Regions from separate parts of the Homo sapiens genome. Here region 2 is linked to region 1. The links are contacts of gene promoters, found by promoter capture Hi-C in blood cells and fetal thymus (Javierre and others, 2016). All regions are on one chromosome and are shown on one strand. The core of a region is centred on a gene start or on the middle of the fragment in contact, and the rest is flanking DNA. Distances in the headings are between cores, read along the strand shown. Region 1 holds the start of ADAM10 (ADAM metallopeptidase domain 10). Region 2 holds the start of LOC124903569 (laforin-like).

Region 1 (7,454 bases), core at 2,167-4,666:
GCCAGGTGCAGTGGCTCACACCTGTAATCCTGGCACTTTGAGGGGGCCAAGGTGGGCAGATCACTTGAGCCCAGGAGTCTGAAACCAGCCTGAGCAACATGGTGAAACCCCATCTCTACAAAAAATACAACAAATTAGCCCGGCGTGGGGCCCCCCCATCTGCAGTCCCAGCTACCTGGGAGGCTGAGGGGAAGGATCACCTCAGCCCTGGAGGCTGAGGCTACAGTGAGCTGTGGTTGCACCACTGCACCCCAGCCTGGGTGACAAAGTGAGTTCCTGTCTAAAAAAAAAAAAAAGAAAAGAAAAGAAAAGAAATATTGAGGTTAGAAGGCAAAAAAACTTGGCAAAAGTCACACGGTTTATAGATGGCAGAGCTAGGAGTGAAACCCAGGCAGTCTGTGATAGTGTAGATGCAGACCTTATACTTTAATATTTCATCAGTTTTCCATACATTTGCAAAATATCAATAATGAATTAAGTTAAAATAGTAGCCCAAACTTGTAACACTGGAATACCATTCATTATCATGCTGGTATGTAATGCCATTCGTGCATGCTGGTATGTAATGCCATTCGTGCTTGACAAATAAAAAAAATACAGTTTTTCTTTTTTTTTGAGACAAGGTCTGTCTGTGTTACTCAGGCTGGAGTGCAGTGGTGTGATCACAGCTCAATGCAACCTCAACCTCCAGGGTTCAAACAGTCCTCCCATCTCGGCCTCCCGAGTACCTGGGACTACAAGTGCATACCACTGCACTGGCTATTTGATTTTTATTTTTAATTAATTAATTAATTAATTTTTTTGAGACAGAGTCTTGCCCTGTCTCCCAGGCTGGAGTGCAGTGGCGCCATCTCGACTCACTGCAACCTCCGCCTCCTAGGTTCAAGTGATTCTCCTGCCTTAGCCTCCTGAGTAGCTGGGATTACTTGCTTCAGCCTCCAGAATAGCTGGGATTACAGGCACAGGCCACCACGCCCGGCTTTTTTTTTTTTCCTAGCTCTGTCGCTCAGGCTGGAGTGCAGTGGCGCGACCTCGGCTCACTGCAAGCTCTGCGTCCCGGGTTCACGCCATTCTCCTGCCTCAGCCTCCCGAGTAGCTGGGACTACAGGCGCCCGCCATCACGCCTGGCTAATTTTTGTATTTTTAGCAGAGACGGAGTTTCACCATGTCGGCCAGGCTGGTCTCAAACTCCTGACCTCAAGTGATCTGCGGACCTTGGCCTCCCAAAGTGCTGGGATTACAGCTGTGAGCCCCGTGGCTGGCCAAAATAAATACATTTTAAAAATTAAAAAAAAAAATACAGTCTTTATAAATGTAATTTTCAGTAATCATCTTAGTAATGCAAAATATGGCTTTGGAGTTTTTTCCAGTTGAATTTTAAGGGAAAGTGCCATTTGCCTCTAATCACTGGAATTCATTATAAAAATACTGTGCAACAGAAAACATGCTATAAGGTGGTTTAAGAGCTGGAAAATAAAAATATCATTTGTTGACAGCACTACCACAAGAGATTAGTAAAAAGCACAGGTGATATGAGATGTAATGTCTGCAGGTAACTATTTCCTAAGACTGAATATTTTAATGAAGGAAAAAAAAACCATTCGTGAGATTCTGCCATCCTTTGATGATTCCATGTATCTCATTATAAATGGATACAATTATGATGGTTTTGAAACGTCCGTTTTTGAGCCTATTAATGTTGCAGCAAAACTAGAATCATTCATTTCTCAAACTGAGAATTAAAGAAGACTCTTATGGCCAGGCTCGGTGGCTCCCACCTGTAATCCCAGCACTTTGGGAGGCTGGCGGGCGGATCACCTGAGGTTGGGAGTTCGAGACCAGCCTAACCAACATGGTGAGACCCCGTCTCTATTAAAAATACAAAAAATTTGCTGGGCGTGGTGGTGCATGCCTGTAATCTCAGCAACTTGGGAGGCTGAGGCAGGAGAATCGCTTGAACCTGGGAGGCAGAGGTTGCGGTGAGTCGAGATCACACCATTGCACCCCAGCCTGGGCAACGAGAGCGAAACTCCGTCTCAAAAAAAAAAAAATTCTCTTCACTTATGTTAATGGTAATAAATGGTATAAAATATACAGGTAACAGTATAGGAATTCCAGTTTATTACAGTATCAATAACATTAAGGCCGAGCGCAGTGGCTCACGCCTGTAATCCCAGCACTTGTGGGAGGCCGAGGCGGGAGGATCGCTTGAGTTGGAGGTTACAGTGAGCTATGATCACACCACTGCACTTCAGCCTGGCGAGACAGCGGATACCTTGTCTTTAGAAAGCAAAACAAAACAATTTACACACACACACACACACACACACTCTCCCTAATTCGGCTTGAGTTGGAGGTTACAGTGAGCTATGATCACACCACTGCACTTCAGCCTGGCGAGACAGCGGAGACCTTGTCTTTAGAAAGCAAAACAAAACAATTTACACATACACACACACACACACGCACACACACACTCTCCCTAATTCGGCCTACTCAAGCACGATACCAAATAGATGAAGAATATCTAATTAAATGGCCATAAAAAGTTCTAGTTCATGACATCCAAGTTTAAAGAATCAAAATGAGTTACGAGAAAACAAACACAAGCTTTAAGAAGTTGGGGAGAAGATGTGCGTGGATTCGCTTCAAAGATGTGACAGAGAGAAAAGAGGACATTTTCTGGACTGGAGATTCAAGACAGTCTGGTTCAGGTTGCATGCTTTTGCAAAGGCTAAAGCCTTAGTCTGTGACATAAATTTGTAAAGAGCTCGGAAAATTACATCTCGGACATGGTGTCTTTTTTTCCTGCTGCTTGAAGGTCTTTGCATTTATGTTCGCATCACTGGGGCAGCTGCCGCTATAATTACTGCTTGTTGGGACTTTTTGTTTACTTGGTAGCTGTGGTGCACCAAGAGAGGCAGAAAAAGAAGAAAAAAAACCTCTGTTACTTGTGACGTTAAGAAGTCGAAAGCAGCCCTGCTTACATCTTCCACGGACCATTTTAGCCCAAGGGAAGGTCCTCAGCAGCTCTAACACGTAGCGGAGCACTATCTCCGCGTAGGAGCGCTCCCGCCCCGGGGCGGGACCAGGACAAACCCCGCCTCCCAAGCCCAATCCCAGCTCTCCGCCGGCGGACAGGAAGCGGCGGCAGGCCTAGCAGCACGGGAACCGTCCCCCGCGCGCATGCGCGCGCCCCTGAAGCGCCTGGGGGACGGGTAGGGGCGGGAGGTAGGGGCGCGGCTCCGCGTGCCAGTTGGGTGCCCGCGCGTCACGTGGTGAGGAAGGAGGCGGAGGTCTGAGTTTCGAAGGAGGGGGGGAGAGAAGAGGGAACGAGCAAGGGAAGGAAAGCGGGGAAAGGAGGAAGGAAACGAACGAGGGGGAGGGAGGTCCCTGTTTTGGAGGAGCTAGGAGCGTTGCCGGCCCCTGAAGTGGAGCGAGAGGGAGGTGCTTCGCCGTTTCTCCTGCCAGGGGAGGTCCCGGCTTCCCGTGGAGGCTCCGGACCAAGCCCCTTCAGCTTCTCCCTCCGGATCGATGTGCTGCTGTTAACCCGTGAGGAGGCGGCGGCGGCGGCAGCGGCAGCGGAAGATGGTGTTGCTGAGAGTGTTAATTCTGCTCCTCTCCTGGGCGGCGGGGATGGGAGGTGAGGCACGACTGCGAGCGCCGGGGGCGCCGCGACCACGGCGGAGCGGCGGCCGGGCCGAGCGGAGCCCAGTCGCGCCTCGCGGCGTGCGCGTCAGTCAGCCCAGCCGGCCAGCGGCGCCACTCTGGCGGGCCGCGCTCCCCGCTCCCTATTGTCCCCCGCGCCCCGACCGCTTTCCCTTCGGTGGCGGGCCGAGGAGGCTCCCAAGCCTCCGGCGAGGCCTTCCCCGCCCCCCACCGCCCTGGCGGCCCCGGGAGGCGGGGGTCGCCTCCCAGAGAAGCGAAGTCGGGGCATCCGCGTCGCCTGGTGAGAGCGGTGGAACCCAGGCTGGTGGCTGCATCCCTCCAGTCTGCTCGGCGGGCGCCGGTGCAGGCAGCCGCAGCGAGGCTGGCGGTCTCGCCGTCCTCGTTCAGCGCTCATCCTGCTCACCATTCCTCCCCCAGCCCCTGCCCGGTGGCGGATTCCGAAGTCCTCTCCGCCGCCGAGACCCGCCGCGCAGACTCGTGGGAAGTTGTGTTGTTTGCAGCTGGGCTCGTGTATTGTTCTTTACCCGGCGCGCCGGTCCTGACCGACCCCATTCTGCAGAGGGGCCGCCCGTGGAGTGGCAGCAGTCATCACCCGCTTATCTGAGACTAGTGGCCTCGGTTCTTCCTGTGTCCTGTGTTTGGAGAGAGATCACAGGAGGGTGTGTTGGTGTTCTTGAAAACATTCTGTCGCCCAGGGGAAAGGGTTTGGTCGGGAGAAGGGTAAACCATTTGGGGATGTTCTTTGATTTGTAGGCTGGATTGGGTCTCTTAGAGTAGAAGTTCGGTCCCTGGGTGACCCAACTTGAAGAGTTTCGTTAAACTTTCAGGTGGAGTAGATGTACAGTGTAGTTAGTGGATTGTCAAAACAGTGCCCCCTCCCCCCTGCACATGAAAGTCAAATTTGCTAAAAGCATGTCATTTCTTGTTTCGGGTTTTGAAGACAACGATTTTTATTTCCGGTGTGTTCTAGGACCAGCTGCATCATTTTATTCTTGCTTAAAGTGCTTTATTTTAGGTAAGCTTTTTGACTTGCCCCAGAGTAAACTTAAAAACCTCAAGGTGTGCCTAAAAGCAACGATTGAAAAAATTTGAGGAATGCTTTGGATGAGTGTCTGTAGCCTTTGATAATTTAGAAAATATCTATTTCATGTAATGTATTGTTTCTGTTTTTTTCTTTGCCACTTTGACTTATGACTGCAGGACCAAGTGTATTTCTGTCCTGTATTCTACCGAGTCCGAGGGTGGTACTGCGTAGGCAGACTTCTGTTATAGTTTGTAGTGTTCATTTTTTTGTTACACGTTTTATTTAATTTTTTTCAATCCAATTCATCAAGCAAGACACACATTATAGATTAAGAGCTGATAATAGATGTTTAGTTTTAAAAAGGATTATGTGCGGGAGACTCTCTGTTAGAGGAGCCTTTTTCATCTGACATTTGTTATTTCTGTTCTAAACGTGGCTTTCAACAAATCGTTTTCCTATCTTTTTTCACTTTTTGTGATTAAATTCAGGAGTTAAGACACTGTTCTCTATAAGGTAATAAAAAGTAAGACAAACACATGAGGCACTTTACTGAGTAGTAGTATACTAAATGTTCTTTTAAAAATAATGAAAACAGTAAGAAACTGATGTAGTCTTATATTTGAAGAAAAAACAATTGAATAACATGTTTGTGGGTTAAAACTCTTATACAAAAATTTTCTAAATTCATATTTCCAGAGTCCTTTATTGCATTAAGCATTGGTTAAAAGGCTAATTTTTGGTGTTTTTGTTAAGCAGAACTTTTTCAAAAAACATAAGACAAGTTTTATTAGTTTTATTTTAAAATTAGTATCAAGATTCTAGCTTTTGGGTACTTGGAGATACTTGTAATTTTATTGTAACTATGGGGTATTTTTATCTACTAATCTGAGCTATTTTTGGTCACTTGTAAGATCTTTGTATGATGATTTGTAGACTTCAGCACATTGAGATTGAATGTATTTGTTTTAGCATATGAGAGAAAGGAGAAATTTGTGTAGATTAGAAGTTGTGGTGGAAATTTAACTTAAAATGTAAATCATTTTCAGGTAGTTAATAAATCCTTTTTGTTGCTTCCACCTCCCCAATTTGTCAGTCACTGTTGTGTGTGAAATTTTTCTTGCTCTGTATATTACTAGGATGGGAAGCTGGAAGGAATAATTAAAGTGTTTAGAATCATAAAACAAACTTTCCTAATGGTGTCCATTTCCAGCACAGCCCCATCCTATGTTGTAGTTGTAGGAGCAAACCATGTTTTTTTATTTTATTTTTAAAATTTAACTGGTGTGTTTGAGAGCACAAAAGGCATTTCAGCTGTAGCAGTAAATTCCATAATGTTTTGGTTTGATGAAATCATGCCCGAAATGAACTTCAGAGTATGATATGTCTCTTACATTTAAAAATCTGATGTAAGTGCTTAGCTTTGTACATTACTGCTCAATAGAAATAAGTTTTCTGGAAACTTGACCAGAGCTTTAAAGGTAGTAGAGCTTAAGCAGTTAAACTTTCTCTGACTCTGAGTCGGAATCTACCAGCAAATAAGAATTTAATGAAAGAGACAGACTAATTTTGTCTTTATCCTTAAGGATCTCTGACTCTTCATCTTTTTAAAACTTCAGTTTGAGTCCAGTTAACTCCATCATCTTTTTTAAAAAATGTTTTATTTTGTTTATTTATTTTAAAAAGTAGTGATGGGGTCTTAATACGTTGCCCAGGCTGGTCTCAAACTCCTCGTCCCTAGCGACCCACCTACCTTGGCTTCCCAAAGTGCTGGGATTGCAGGCATGAGCCACCCTGACTGGCCAATTCCTTGTCTTAAGACATTTTTCTTAACAAGAAAAATTTACATATTACATATTACTAGGATGGGAAGCCAGAAGGAAGAATTAAAGTGTTTAGAATCATAAAATGTAAACTTTCCTGATGGTGCCCATTTCCGGCACAGTCCCATCCTATGTTGTAGTTGTAGGAAGGTACCATTGCCTACATTAATGGTATTTTCTGTGTGTATGTGTACAGCCTCTCCCAGCAGGCATGGCAGGCACTTCTCTGATGTGCTTTTAGTAACTTGTTTAAGATCTTCAAGGATGTGTATTATCTGATCTCTTTAAAATTTTTCTAAGGACCTTAAGGGTTGTAGGGCTTGGGGCAAATGGAACATTTCCATGATGCCTTTTGTGTGTCTAATACTGTGTTAGGAGTTTCACTTTTCAACAGTTATGAGAGAGGGGTGATAGGCAGTTGAAGAAACAGACTTGGAAATATAATTTTTCTAGCATCATCCACCACTTAGTGGTGAATTGGACATTCGAACTCAAGCTGGTTTGACCTTAAACCCTAATAAGCTTTTTATCCATTGCCCCTTCATGCCTTTTTTGAAAGCGGCTTTCATACATTAGCTCAAAGGTGGCCTCTGGACTAAACTACCTTAGAGATATGTTTTATTCACAGTGTCTTTAAGTTTGAGCTAATGATTAACATTGAAAAATTGGGATATTTCTCAGTGAAATTCATGGATTTCTGGATTTTCGGGGAAGACTTGGAAATCCAGATACTAGTGGGCTGTATTCCTATTGTGCAGAGCTGAGCAGTAGGGCAGTAGCCACCCTCTTTAAACTGGGTATGTGCTTACCGGTTACTGCAGTCCCCATCATTCCTAATGATACACCTGGCCTTTTTCACTCATTTTTGTTACCTGCTTGGGTACTGTGGGTATGTTGTTCCCATCTCTGCCTTAGCTTTATCTTGTATAGATGGCTCCAAC
Region 2 (7,454 bases), core at 3,353-5,852, 2.5 Mb after region 1:
CAAATGTTGAGCCCTGTTCCAACTAGGGGGCCAGGGTTACAAGAGACAAGGATGGAAGCTTACATCAACAGAGCCAGGCTTGGAGGGTGACTGTGGATATGGCCGACAACCTGAGGCTTTGCTGAATTAGGAGAATGACACTACAGGCATAATTAGAGGCATTTTAAACGGAGAAAACAAAAACATACTAACATCAGCCACAATATAACACTGGCATAACTTCAGGAGATGGTAAGGGAAAAAGGGATGAAGAAAAATAGAAATTCATCCTTGGGAATAAACATTTATGTACAGGGAAGAGCAGAGAAAGTAGATCTATTCTTGGAAAGGAGACAGGTTGGCCCACTTCATAAGAAATTACCTTTCCTGAGATCCACATAAAGAAAATCCAAAGACATCTTCTCAAATACATGAGGAGTGACTTACAGAGTGTGGTAAGTGTCATGGTTCCTTGGCCTAGCCAAGTTGACACATACCCAGCTATTCAAATCATACTCTAAGCTGGATGTTGCTGTAAAGGTACGTATTTTGCAGATGTGGTTAATTAGCTACAATCAGTTGACTTAAGTAGATTATCCTAAATAATTTTGGTGGGTCTCATCCAATCAGGTGAAAGGTCTTAAGAGCAAAACTGAATTATTTTGTTTTTTTTTTTCCCTAAGGAAGAAGAAATTTCACCTGTGGGTTGCAGCATCCACTATGCAAGGCATTTTGGCCTTCCCTACAGATTTCAGACTTGCCAGCCTCACAATCACATAAGCCAATTCCTTTAAAATATGTAAACATACAAATATAAAATATATATCTCCTACTACTTGTTCTCTCGTAGAACCTCGCTTTGTACACAGTATGGAAGCACAAACTCCTCAGACTAGCTTGAATACACTCGGAATTTGGTACCCCATATAACCTTTATCATCAGCTGTTCACTCCAATTAGACCAGTCTTCTGTGTGTCTTGTCATTTGCATGCTCGTTTTCCTGCTTCTACTCACACTGCCTTTCCCTTCGGACTTGTCTCCATTCTTTCTCCCACCTTTATAAATCCTTCATTTTACTCACACTCTAGCTCCATCCCAAGTCCTCCACGCCACTTTTAACTTTAGCTCCTTTTGCTCTTTCTCTAAACTTCCTTAGCAGTTATTAGCTACGCCATTCACTGGTTTTTAATCTTATATATCTCACCTACCAGTGTCTTTTTTATATAGCATCCACCACTAGGAAGTATAAATTTGCAAGTACAAATTTGGGTGTGCAAGACATGTCACTATTCTTTAAATCAAATTAAATTTACCACAGACTTAAGTGATCTCAGCCTTAATTCTGCTGGAGTAGAAGGAAATCCAATCTCAGTTCTTACTGGGCTTTCCTCTCTTCCTAGTACTGCAGTAGGGTTTGAAAGACTTATGTTGAGCCTAGAAAATGGAAGATGGACTTTGACATCCTCACTGGCAATTCCTCCACTTATGGGCCAAGAGAGGCAAGGGAATCCAGCCTCCCTAATGGCATTGTGCATCCATATGAGGTTAGAGTATCTCCCTGGGGTACTCTTATTCTTACTACTGGAACCCCAATCTTTGATTTTCTACAGCTCATGGGAATTTTTTTTTCTGTAATTCCACCTGCCCATAGATGCTTCTTCTTTCCTCTTTTTTTTTTTTTTTTTTTTTTTTTTGAGACAGATCCTCACTGTGTCGCCCAGGCTGGAGTGCAGTGGCACAATCTCGACTCACTGCAACCTCCACCTCCCTGATTCAAGCAATTCTCTGCCTTAGCCTCAGCCTCCCAAGTAGCTGGGATTACAGGCACCTGCCATCATGCCCGGCTAATTTTTGTATTTTTAGTAGAAACGGGGTTTCACCATCTTCGCCAGGCTGGTCTTGAATTCCTGACCTTGTGATCCACCTGTCTCAGCGCCCCTTCCTTCCTTCCCTCCCTCCCTCCTTTCTTCCCTCCCTCCCTCCCTCTCTCTCTCTCCCCAGATGTGCTTACCTTTTTAACCCCCTAGCAACATCTCCTCAAGGAGCAACAAACTTGAAAGACAGATTGCTGGGTCCAATTCCAGAAATAACATTGACACTGCATTCTAAGGAGTCCTGTTCCAGGAGGCTTCATTTAAAATGTGAATGGTGCCCCCTGGAGTTGCCTAAGAGAGAGCTCTTGTCAGACAACTTTCTGCCTAGTAACACAAAGTTCCCTTGAAGCCTGCTTGGAATGGAAGGGAGGGAAAATATAAGGAGCATAAAACCCAAATAAATAGCTCAATAAATTATCCTGTCACACACCTTTTGTTTGTTTTTTGTGTTTTTATTTCACTTTTAAAAATATGTATGGGCTGACATGTGTAGTGTTCCAATTAGATTATGAGCTTCTTGAAAATGAGAACAATATTTTACTACTTATTTTTTAATCTTTCTAAGGTCCCAATATAGTAACTTGTACATAGCAGGTTCTCGAATGTGCCTTGAAAGGAATGGAGGAATGATCGACCTTGTGAATTATTGGTTAGGCCCCACCTGTTCAGACTGCACTGGCACTGACTTCCTCACTGTGGGATTGGCTCTGGTGTCTTTTCATTGTCACTTTTAGTGTTAAGTAAATAACTAAAACACTTTTAGTGTCACAATTTAGTGTTTTTCTTTATCTGCTTCTGTTCACAGCCACTCCTTTCCTGAATTTCTAAGATATCAAATTTCTACTTGGGACTTTTTGGCCCAAGTTAAAGTAAACACTTCCTTTAAAATGTATGTAGATGATATTAACTTGAACCTTCTTTAATGTAAAAGAATTGAAAGTTACAACATAAACATGTATATGGTACCAACAGTGGAAAATTTCTAAGTGAAATCAAAGCGGGATCTAGCATTTGTTTCATCATACTACTCACTTGAAGAGCTGAGTATATTATGTGAACTTTATCCCACTAATCCTTAGAGATAAGCAAAGGTACTTGAAAGAATGACTTGTACAGATAGGGTCACATAGCCAGGTAGTGACAGTGTTAACAGTCTGCTGCCTTGACAGTATTTGAATAGTTAGGCTACTTAGCCTTAACACTGGGCTATACATTGTTTTAATGACATAATGACATATTTGTGCTCTAACAGAAGAATTCACATTTTCACAGCATACTTACATTAGCACTCTTGGTATTGAGAACATGTATCAAAATTTGCCAATATTAACTTAGTTCTGAACCCCCCAACTTCCCTCTTCTGTAATCTTGCTGCTGCTTTTATTTTTCTCCTCTTCACTCCCTCCCACATCCTCTTCTCTCTAATGCTATTAAAGACTGAAAGAAAGCTCAATCACATTACAGCATTGAAACTTATATATATATAAGCCCTCCTAGGACTACTTGCACTTTGAAAGACAACAGCTTAGCTGAAAGAAATTATCCATCACTTTCTGCTATCAAGGAAGAATTGGGAGAGGTGAAAAGCCTTCTTTCCTTGTTCTCTTAAATAACATGTAGGTCATTAAACTCTACTTTCAGCTTCTAGAGGAGAAAGCTTGCAATGGAAAAAGACAGAGGAAGTAATGATCAGGGGAAAAGAGGATGAGAGGAGTATTTTATTTTTATATTCAAGTTGGGAAAGAAGGAGAACAGGGTAGAACTTTACCTTTTCCATATCTGGTAAACCACCATACTTTGTGGAAGTGAAATGTATACTTTCAGCACTTAATCAGTATGTACCAATAATGAAACCGACTTTCAGGCCTTCCTTTGATAGAACGATCCTAACTATAATGCAAAGTAACATTTTGTAAAGTGGGTTTTTGTCTCTCTCTCCTTCTTTTCCCTCGCCTATACTACTTTAGGATCTGATCACAGAGTCAACACCGTGCTATGCATTATTCCTTCAGCAAACAGTACCCTTTCATGGCTTCACACCAGTGCTCATGTTACTCCCTTTATCTGAAATCATCTTCCCTCTGTTGCTCTGCCTACTCAACTCCTATTCATCCAACAAGACCCAATTAAAATGCCAGCCATGATGCCTTCTCCAGTTCTTCTACCCTGAGCAAGACCAATCCCTCCCTCCATTATGACTCCACAACACTAGTGGATATGTTTATAACTCATCATCTTATATATGTTAATATGTTGCTCTACTTCACAAAAATGTAAACTACTTCAAGTTGGGGCCAGGTCTTATTTATTCATATTTTCCGTGCCCAATACTGCTATATATCAGGCATGATAAATGTATATACTACAGTCTGGACAGTATAAAATGTTTACAGTTTCATAAAGGAGACAAGGTTTACAGACACAAGAGAGCAAGACAATATAATGGATTGGGCTAGGAAAATGAGGGTTAGTTAACTACTAAATTCCACAAATATTTATTAAATAGTCAGGAGTCAGGAATTATGTCCTGGGACTACTAGGATAAATAAAATAGTCATTTCCTTTGAGGTGCTGACAATCCATCTTGTAGATACTCTCTAAATGTGGACAACACTTCCCTGGTTTACCTATAACTTTTCATGTTTTCCTTATAGCAACCCTCTGATGTACATCATTATTTTCATTTTTATAGAGATCGAAACAGAGGGTTTGAATTCCCAGGTCTTCTGACTCCAAGGCCAGGTTTTTCTAACCCACTACATCAGTGTTCCTCAAAATTTTCCTCTGGTGTACACTTTCCCAGTAGAGAATAAACTTAGGCTCCTCAGGGTTGGGTAATACTTGTGTGTTATCTTAAAAAGTCATGCTTACTACAATGTCTTACCTTATTTACCAGAGAGTCAAAATGATGCTCAGAGAAAATGAGCCACATTGATTCTGGGTCCTTGAGGGTCCTCAGTACAGGGTTGCACAATCAAAGGAACCCACATAATATGAGAAGCACATGGCTACACTCCTGCCTTTATTCAGGGTCCCTGGGTTTGGCTTGAGTCCACACTCAAAATTTTGGGTAACTTCATCAGATTTCTTAATGTCATGATTTTATTCACAGTCTTCTCTGAAGACTGGAACAAAACACCCACTGTACTCCCAGATGTTAAGTGAGTAGTGAGGGCTGCCCCTTTCCTCCCTGAAAGGGTATCTCACTCTGGCAATAAGGTCTCCTCAGTCTGATACTCTCTGCCACCCCTCCCATTGCTGGTCTCCTTCAACTCCCTGTAGGTCCTGGAAGGCCGGAAAAGGTTTACCACCACACTCCGGTCAGCACCGCCGCTAGAGGGCAGCCCGCGGCTGCAGCTTCGTGAGCCCTCTAGTGGCTGCTGGGGTGACCTGGCTCTTTTATGGAACCCATTAAAAACTCTCAGAAGTTGCACTTGGGAAGCCAGCCTGTGTGACACCCGGTAGCGAACTTTTTATAAAACGTCTTGGTTCTCGGCTTCCTTTTCTTAAGGCCTTTGGCAGACCTTAGATACGTTACCCCCTCGATGACTCTCCCACTTCCTAAGGATCTCCCCCTCCCAGGGTGTTGCAACTTGGAGCCATCATTCTCTCTTGGCAAGGCAAAAAATTAGAACCTTGGGGAACTTGGCAACTTTCCTCAACGTGATATAGGGCATACACACACACACGTATATATATACCTACATTCAAGATTTTTCAGCGTAATTCCAGTTTCAGCATAGCTTGCAGGCTCTGGAATTAAACTTCCAGGACTCAAATTTTGGCTCCTGCATTTACTAATTGGGTAATTTTAAGAATGTTAATTAACCTAAGCTTCCATTTCATCTGTAACAGAGGGAGACTAATAATACCTACATTATACACTCTTGGGGAGGAATAACTATGATAATGTATGGAAAGTGCTAGTCTGGCACACAAAGTGTTCAACAAACATTAGCTATTTTTATCCTTCAAAGCTTCTGTCTAGTGCACACCATGTCTATCAATTAGGTCCACAAAAATACTGTCTTTACACACCCACATGAAGATATGTATGCAAAATGAATGTCGTAAACCACCTATAGTTTCCTAAAGTGGCTAAGCTAATAGAGACCTTAGAGTATGGAAAAGGGGGCTCATTTGTGTGATGCAACTCGTGCAATGGGTAGTTGGAGCACAGCGTAATCCAAGAGGCCCCGGGGGCGGGGGGGCGGCTTATTTTGCACACAGGTGTTCTTCCTCCCTGCACCCCCACCCTCAACCCTCACCACGTGCAAGCATTCAGTGTGAGTCTGGGCCTTAAGTCTGTGGGCCAGGAGAGAGGGCACAGTGGACAAAAGCAAGAGGGTTTCAGGCCAAGGCAGGGAACTGAGAACTCAAAGGCCAGGCAACCCAAGCCAATCAGATTCACCATCCACTAGGAGTCTAAAAGGTGGCAGAGCCCCACAGCCCAAAGTCCACACACAGCAGGAAAGTGGCCAGAGGATCTAACAGGTAGAAACCTGATAGACACTCTATCAGAAAAGTTAAAGCTGAAGGGCTCATAACACCCACGGGCCCAAAGAAAGGTCAGTGTGAGCTGAACAGCTGTTCCATTTGGTGCCAGAGGCCTTGGCTGTTGTATTCTACATCCACGCAGCCTCCCTGATCAGCCCCACCTAGAAAAGCCAATTCTTCTGCTCTTAAAGGAGACTGACTTATTTGTGGCAAAGCTATCATTTAGGTATGAATGGGAAGGGGGGGAATGGTGCGGAGTCTGCGGGGGGAGGGCGGGTGTTCAACGGGCTCCAAAGGAAGGAGCTCGTGGCTGACGCCTGAGCCTCCATGTTGTGAGTACTACATGCGTTTCTTTCAGAGGCAGGCAGTGGCCTTGGCTGCAGGGACCCTGACAAGCCGCGACTTGAGCTATGCTTTAGAGCCTGGGTGGAATTGGGAGCGGTATAAAGGAGGGAGGGCATTCCTGGAAAGGGGGTGGGGTGGGGTGGGGAGGTGGAGGGGAACAGCATGAGCAAAGGCACGAAGGAAGAATGAATCTGCTGCGCGTTGAGGATGGCATGGAGACTTCCCTGATTGGAGCCGGGAGTTCTTGCAGGGGGATGGAGGCCGCTATGATTGGATAGTTAAAGTGGGGCCAGATTTGGAGGGCTTTGAATGCCCGACCGAGGAGCACTCAACCCAGCTCCTGACTCGCGATTTCCGTTCAAGACCGAATTACCTAAAGGGTGGTTAATTCCAACGGGTGTTCTTCTTTGGGGGCTTCTGAAAAGTCAGTTTATCGTCTTACCTGCTTCAGTTCTCTTCATTTACTCAGGGAGGAAGTAATCCTCACATGCATGTGCAGGGGAAGGGGGATAATGTTGATTTCTCTTTACTTGCTTTGAAGATGCCTCCCCCGCCCAAATCCCATTTCCACGCCAAATATTATTAAATTTGGTTTCTCCTCCTCCTCCTCACGCAAGTTCTCTTTCTCTCGCCAGCACCTCCCCCACGTTTTCCTGCTCTCCACCAGCCGGGCCGGACTCCTCCCGGCCCCCAGCGGCGCGCTTCCCTGGCCCGCTGGCCCGCGCCGCCCTCCGCGCCGTGCGCCCCCATCCCGGCCC

Evidence for each region. Contacts are between HindIII fragments. The CHiCAGO score rates a contact against its expected background, and 5 or more counts as called.
Region 2: a contact is called between a fragment that was not itself captured here and the fragment with the promoter of ADAM10 in region 1, in 1 of 17 cell types (fetal thymus). The highest score is 5.9, in fetal thymus.

What each region holds. Positions count from the first base shown.
Region 1 is chr15:58,745,669-58,753,122 of GRCh38, reverse strand. It overlaps ADAM10 (ADAM metallopeptidase domain 10), which reads left to right and starts at 3,416. Exons shown (of 16, transcript NM_001110.4): 1 at 3,416-3,643. The coding sequence starts at 3,589. RefSeq lists enhancers at 2,797-2,976, 4,067-4,196, 3,648-4,283 and silencers at 3,047-3,336, 3,667-3,956. The HindIII fragment of the contact is 2,079 bases long and covers 2,613-4,691 here.
Region 2 is chr15:56,243,963-56,251,416 of GRCh38, reverse strand. LOC124903569 (laforin-like) reads left to right here and starts at 6,599. Exons shown (of 3, transcript XM_047433428.1): 1 at 6,599-6,683; 2 at 7,238-7,434. The coding sequence starts at 6,599. It also overlaps a transcript of RFX7 not described here and a transcript of TEX9 not described here. RefSeq lists enhancers at 5,629-6,274, 6,513-6,562, 6,275-6,920, 6,921-7,454 and silencers at 6,813-6,862, 7,353-7,454. The HindIII fragment of the contact is 2,177 bases long and covers 3,514-5,690 here.